Linked DNA regions of Homo sapiens: region 2 is linked to region 1. The links are contacts of gene promoters, found by promoter capture Hi-C in blood cells and fetal thymus (Javierre and others, 2016). All regions are on one chromosome and are shown on one strand. Each heading gives the region's core, a stretch centred on a gene start or on the middle of the fragment in contact. The rest is flanking DNA. Distances are from core to core; before and after follow the strand shown. Region 1 holds the start of KANSL1L-AS1 (KANSL1L antisense RNA 1). Region 2 has its middle 14 kb from the start of LANCL1.

Region 1 (3,556 bases), core at 1-2,500:
GATACTATATAACACTTAAGGCACGAGTAATTTTTTTTTCACCGTTTCCCCTCCATGGCTATGAAGGAACTGGGAGAAGGATGCTCCTTTCATTAATTAAAATTCTTCACTTTGAAAATTTAAGTTTATTAGGGAAGGAAGGAAGAAAAATATGAAGATGTAAGTATACATACCTTGGAGTAAGTATTTCCTTATATTGGAGTTTCTCTAATTTAGCTGGGGCTACTAATGACATGGGAATCACAATGTTATCTATGTCATAAGAGCTCTCACTTCTCAATCTCCGTCGTGCAGTATTCTGCAAAACAGGATTACAGTAGATTTACAGTACTGTCTAGTTACTTGTAATGATACCCTCCTTTCATCAGTTATGTAAATATGGCAGTACACGTTACATAATTTTTGTAAATACATTGTTATAAAGTCTGACTAAAAAATGTTAAGAAAACCAAAAAATAAAACATTTTTCTATCTTTTGTAAATCAGAACAATCTCTTGGTAGATGTGTAATGTGTATTTATGTGTGCAAGCATACAAGCTTATTTTTAAGACCACAAAAAATAGGTCTTAAATGCAAAACTCTTTATCAGAAAAGACCAACATACATCACCCTAAATGTCAATGAAAATGATCAGTAACCACTTTTTATTAGGAAAGGCAGTGAAACATTTTTGGTCAGCCCTTCAGTATACTCTTCATTTATGCATTCCTGGTTCCTGAGTTTCGGAATTCATTTCTAAACCCTCCCACCTTTTGACCTCTCTATTCCCTGGCCAGATAACAAAAAAACAAACAAACAAACAAAAAACAGGACAAGAACAAGAAAGTCCTGAATTCTCATTAGTAAGACTTTATTTAGCTTAATATGTTAAGGAATAGAGATGATCATGATAATGTTTAAATTTTTAACACATAAAAAGAAGCTATAACCAAATATTAATGAACTTTTAGCTTCATAGTTAAAAATAAGTTGTATGAATCAAATATATTGTTTTCTAACAAGATAGTTATAAATGTCTGTTAATATGTGCTAGTAAGGCTGTTATAGATTAGCAAAATATAAATTATTTTCAAAATCAGGTGTTTTTATTTTTAAAGCTATTTTAGAGTTCAACATATGGAAAAACCTACTCGTGATGAATTCTGGATTCTTGATAAAACGTTGACATTGGAAACAGCAGTAAAATTGCTATGGGATCCTGATTCTGTGTGTTGAAAATCAGATTCTTCAAGTTTAGTTCTTTCTCCTGCCATGGAAAGAACCATTGAATGTTACACATTAAACAAGTCTAATATCATTAGAATTACTTTCCTAATTAGATGACAGGTGATTGATTCCTTGTTTTGTGTGTGTGTGTTTAAATTCGTGTATTAGAAAACAAAAAAGGAAATGAAAAAAGAGGAGCCTTACTTGCAGTCATGCCACAAGTTATTTCCATTTTCTGGGGCTTTGGCAGTTTTTATCGAATATATTTCTTATTGTTCCCTGAATAATCCCTCATCTCATCCCTTTATTCTTGTTTCCTGTGACTCCTATTCATAGTTGAACCACCAGAACTATCTTAATTTTCTTATCTAATCTCATTTTTCATATCTGACTTTTTATCCTAATTTATGTGAGGTATCTGTCCTTGGTCTTCTGAACACTCTTAATTTTTTGAAAAAATTCTGCTATTATAAGTACATGTTTCCGAAAGTACTTGTTCTCTGGTACTCTTTTTTTAAAACAGCATCCTGTTCTTGTTTCATAGATGAAATTTCTCATATCTCTCAGGATATTGATTAGAAGTTTACTTCTGTTAGTATTTTCTGTATATCTTCCAAGTTCTTTTTTTTTTTTTTTCCTGTTTTGGTTCCCAGTTACTGTGTGTGTGTGTGTGTGTAGTAAATATATATATGTATGCGTTTACTTACTGCCCTTATTTTAGTACAAGTGTTTTAAAATGAGAATATTTCCTGCATAATATAAAATCTAATACCCAGTCCATATTTAAATATCTCCATTTGTTAAAAAAAAGTCCTTTATAGCTAGTTTCTTCAGATAAGGATCTATATATAAAAATTGGCCATTGTCTCCTAGGTTTCTTATAGTCTAGAATAAATCATTTTTCATTACATTGACTTTTGACAGGCTGGACCAGATGTCCTACCCTTTTGGAATTGTCTAGTTATTTATTTGTAGTATGACATTTCTTTATTTTATTCCTGTATGTACATCAAACTTGAAGTTAGATCTAAAGTGTCAGTCAATTTAAGTGAAACATTTTATATCTTAGGTAATGTATACTTCATGTTGCATCTTATTAGATGTTTTTAAAGCTTTATATATATATATAAGTTGAATCTTGTTGACTTTCTCAAAATCCTGAGGAATCTGCAGTGCATCAACATCTCCACAGTAGGTACCATAAATGGTTAACAGTTTCTGTAAGGCAACTTTGCACTAGCCTATTTTGAGCATAGAACACAACTTTGAAGATTAAATCCCATCCAGGGACTGATTGGTAGAAGACAACTAGTCAGGGAACATAGGAGGGAAATACTTAATTGCCATAAAGTGGGTAGATACCAGTCCACAAATAATTCTAAATTAACTACGAATATGCTGTTTCATGTTTGTAGACTCATAGATGTTTTGTGTTATTAGTGGCTGTTCTGGATTATAAACTCCCATGAGAGGTTATTTTAAAATCAGAATTTTTAATTTTTAATATTTATCACTACTGCTTATATCCTCACTTTAACCTACCTAATGCTGTTTCACTCAAATGTCTTTTCTTTCTTCCCTGTAACAGTTGTGCAGAAGATTCTGACCTTATTTGAGGCTTACATATAGGTGAATATCCATTTCTCCATTGATTCAGAGTACTATGTACTAAAACAAATGAAAAGGAAATATTAAGTTTTAGTTCCTTAACACAGACAGTGAACATGTCAATCTGTTTTTATTTGTAACTGCAGAATTTTAAGATACCAGTTCAAAATTACAGATAAACATAAATACCAAGACACACAACTCCAACTAAAAACATCCCCAGGAATTTCCAGTTTCTTATATTTTCTCCATTTTTTTGAGGGGGATGAAAAGGGAAGATGATCTGTTCTCAAAGTCTTCCAAATTACAGAAACTTGATAGAGTGAGGATTGGCTCAGATATATAAATCTTGGCGATCAGAATCTTTAAGTTCTTGCTTACCTTTAAATCTGGAAATAAGTTGGGACCAAGTAAGATTCAACATGGTCAGACTAGACTGTGCGAGCAAGAACCAGAATCATTTAATATCTCTGATGCCTTAGTTGCATCATCTGTAAAATAGGGATAATAGCAGCGACCTTGGATAATGATTACATGAGTTTATTCCTGTAGTAGTAAGTAAAAGTGTCTGATGTGATAAGTGTGCAGTAAATGTTAGCGTTATCATGATTGTATATCTGAACCCCCTTATTTCCAGCCTTGGTCTAACAACCAAATTGGCTTCTTTTTTTGAAAGGTTTGGAGATGTGGAAAGGAGTGGAAAAAGAAATATGTAAGCTGAAGTGCCAAACTCACACTGAA
Region 2 (3,556 bases), core at 682-3,181, 460 kb after region 1:
GCCTTCAGAGATTAAGGGCGCACATTGTGAGCAGAAATAAACCAATGGATTTATCAGTGACTGTACAAATTCCACCTATCTTTTGGACAATAACTGAAAGATCTCTCTTGGGAAAGTAATGTTTTTCTTTGGGAATTGTGGGTTAAAAAACTATGTTTACAGCTATGCCTATCTCCTCTTCCTCATTCCTTCATTCCTTCTACTTTTTGATTTATAATTGTATTCCATAGCCAGAAAAATGCTAAAGAGGTTAATTTTTTATATTATAAAGTAAAAAAAAAATCCTAAGTAAGTTTACTGAGATTTTTCTAGCAAAACTAGAAGTCTTAGTGGGCTTCAGATTCATACTCATGAATATTCTTTTAATTCTTACTTTTATACAAATCTTGGAAATTAGAGGTACAATAGATTATTAAGAATTATGAAAATTTATTCATTGGAGAGCTTAGCAAGAAAATTGCTTATGTTAACATTTGAAAAACTATTTGGTCTACCTGCACTGCAAACTTATAGATGATGGGAAAGCTTATCTTTAAGGCCTGGATCAGTGCAAACAGCCCTGAAAAAGGAAATCTCGAGTTTAATTTACCTTTCAGAACTAAAGAATATATATTGCAGAATTTAAAGAGAAAAGGATCTTCTCTCCTATCTCCTAATGGATACTCTTTGTACCTAGGGTCAGTCTGACTTGGTGGGTGCGGTATTTAACTGCTGCTGACCTTGCTTTGAATTTCTGGCTACAGAGCATTTCAGAGGACAGAGCAAATCTTCTGTTGGGTGTCACATAGGTAGATGCATGCTGGTGCTGGTTCATTCACTGGCACATCCCAGGAATGAATATTTTCTTCCTTGCACATTGACCTTACTCTGATAGACTGACCCAGAAACAGAGCTGGTCTAGTTTTATATGTAAGTAGGAAGGAAAGTTTTCTTCCCTGGCACATACACCTGCTAGCACTCTGACACTTCTAATTTGGAGGTCACAGGAGCAAGTAAATAAATACTATTTAAGGAGCATTAAAAGAAGAAAATTTGGTTTAAACCAAAAAAATCATAAAGTGGGGAGGCAGAGCTACAAACAAGCTGTGGGACTTCAATCATACTTGCTTTCTTCCATACTATTATAAGAATAAAATAAAAAAGGAAGGAAGGGAGAGGCCGAGGCAGGCAGATCACGAGGTCAGGAGATCGAGACCATCCTGGCTAACATGGTGAAACCCCGTCTCTACTGAAAATACAAAAAATTAGCCGGGCGTGGTGGCGGACGCCTGTAGTCCCAGCTACTTGGGAGGCTGAGGCAGGAGAATGGCGTGAACCCGGGAGGCGGAGCTTGCAGTGAGCCGAGATCCTGCCACTGCACTCCAGCCTGGGTGACAGAGCGAGACTCTGTCTCAAAAAAAAAAAAAAAAAAGGAAGGAAGGAAAGCAGGCAGGCAGGAAGAAAGGAAGAAAGGATGGAAGGAAGAAGGAAGGAAGGATGAAGAAAGAAATAAACATATTTCACTTTATACACAGCCTTGCTTCAGTTGGAGAGTGATTCAACTACTCTCAGCTTTCTCTGTAACCACTCAGGAATACCATTTAGAAAAACGTTCTTGTAGAGCTAGAGCCTATTGCTAATAGTAATATTCTGGAAAATTATGGGGAGATATATATGCTTATAGGCTTACCTCTGACCTACAAATTGTCTCTAATAGAGACTGTAATTGTGCACAATCCCTTTTTTCCTCTTCTGCATAGCCATGGGAAGATTTTCTATGTAGGCTTATGTGACCTTCCTAGGTTGTCTGAAATAATCTTGCATCTAGTACATGAATATTACTTAATAAATCCATAAGTATGTACCAAGTGATTTGGCTGCAGAATCAAAATTTTTAAAATGATCCATATTAACTACATCTGAATTTATCCTTGAGCTCCTCTTCTCGTTGTAAAGTGCATTGCACCTATAAAGAGAGGAGTGCAGAATACTTGTAGAAGTTTGTGGGGGGACAGTGAAGGACATTTATTGGTCTAGTTAATGGTAATAGGATATATCCAAAGTGGAAATAAAAGAGAGGCTGTCTTAATTCAATGGTGAGCCAGGGCTATAAGTAACAAAAGGTGGATTTCTTGGGAAATGAATCAATTCATTTTTTGTACCATCAAACTGGGATCTAAAATATGAACCCCATGATACACATGTACACAATGAAACTGTTGGTCTGTTATTGTAATTCTTGAAAATCTCAGTTTATAGTTTTTGTGTGTAAGATAATATTATCCACAGAATCCTAGGTTGGGAGTCTAGTTCTGTTTCTGCTTCAGAAGACTCTTGTCTCAGAGAAGACCCTTGAAACTCTGTGGTCCCTAGGATCCCTCATCTGTAAGATATAGAATGTTCTAGGGGCAAAGTTGGAAAATCCCCTTGAGGACTATGATGTTCCAGACTAGGACACTTTATAATGCTTCCAGGATGCTAATTTCTGGAGGCAATTAGTAGGTTTGTAAACAAATTCTTTTGAAGTGAAGGTTTGAATTGTGTATTGGCAGGAATTATTTGGATAATTGACTTGAATGAGTTTAATTGGCTATAAGAGTTTCATTTTTGTTTTGTTTCTTAGGATGATGTAATTACTGCCTGTGTTGAGTTCCTGCAGGAATGATTTAACTGTTGGATATTTTGAAATGTTCTGGTTGTAAAAGCATGTATTTGGTATCTGTGTTTTTTTTTTTTTTTTTTTTTTTTTTTTTTTGAGACGGAGTCTTGTTCTGTTGCCAGGCTGGAATGGTGCGATCTTGGCTCACTGCAACCTCCACCTCCCGGTTCAAGTGATTCTCCTGTCTCAGCCTCCCAAGTAGCTGGGACTACAGGCACGTGCCACCATGCCCAGCTAATTTTTTGTATTTTTAGTAGAGATGGGGTTTCACTATGTTAGCCAGGATGGTCTCTATCTCCTGACCTCGCGATCCGCCTGCCTTGGACTCCCAAAGTGCTGGGATTAGAGGCATGAGCCACCGCACCTGGACATGTTTGTTTTTTTCCTGGTGTTCTGAGTGTCCTGTGGCAATGGGAAGTTACCATCTCACCTCCACTGTTAAGGCACCAAGTTTCTACCTCTTGGCCCCTAAGAAATGTGGGATCACCTTGAACAGATCTGTCAGCCCTGGTGAGTTTCAGATACCTGTCTCCTAAGAGGAATCTTCTGCTAGGTTAGGGGAGGGGGTCCTATAACAGCTGGAACATAGGCCTTCCCTTCATTCTGTTAACCTGAGGAATAGTCATATCATTCTGCTCTCTCAGTTCTTGTTTCTTAACTTAGCAGGGAATTCAGTGGAGATTTAAGGGTGGTAGCAATAAAGCTTGTGAGAGTGCTTATGAGCCACTGACAGCAACCAACACTATTGTAAGGGAGTTGCTAGATAACCAGGAACCTGGTGGCTGGGCAGAAGCCGACAAAGTTGACTGCTATGAATTTAGATTGTGGCCTACCAATATATGAATAGACAAGAGTTAGACTTCACTATCCCTCCAGAATTCTTTTTCTGTGCAATACCATGTTATCATTATATAACAT

The links. Contacts are between HindIII fragments. The CHiCAGO score rates a contact against its expected background, and 5 or more counts as called.
Region 2: a fragment that was not itself captured here is called in contact with the fragment with the promoter of KANSL1L-AS1 in region 1 in 1 of 17 cell types (non-activated CD4 T cells); the score reaches 5.6 in non-activated CD4 T cells.

Annotation. Positions count from the first base shown.
Region 1 is chr2:210,028,672-210,032,227 of GRCh38, forward strand. KANSL1L-AS1 (KANSL1L antisense RNA 1) reads left to right here and starts at 1,251. Exons shown (of 5, transcript NR_110291.1): 1 at 1,251-1,327; 2 at 2,796-2,836; 3 at 3,492-3,556. KANSL1L (KAT8 regulatory NSL complex subunit 1 like) reads right to left here. Exons shown (of 15, transcript NM_152519.4): 9 at 2,750-2,875; 10 at 1,132-1,247; 11 at 174-298. The HindIII fragment of the contact is 1,781 bases long and covers 537-2,317 here.
Region 2 is chr2:210,488,605-210,492,160 of GRCh38, forward strand. It overlaps a transcript of CPS1 not described here. Among named protein-coding and RNA genes, the nearest start is that of LANCL1, 14 kb to the left of the region's middle. The HindIII fragment of the contact is 2,816 bases long and covers 524-3,339 here.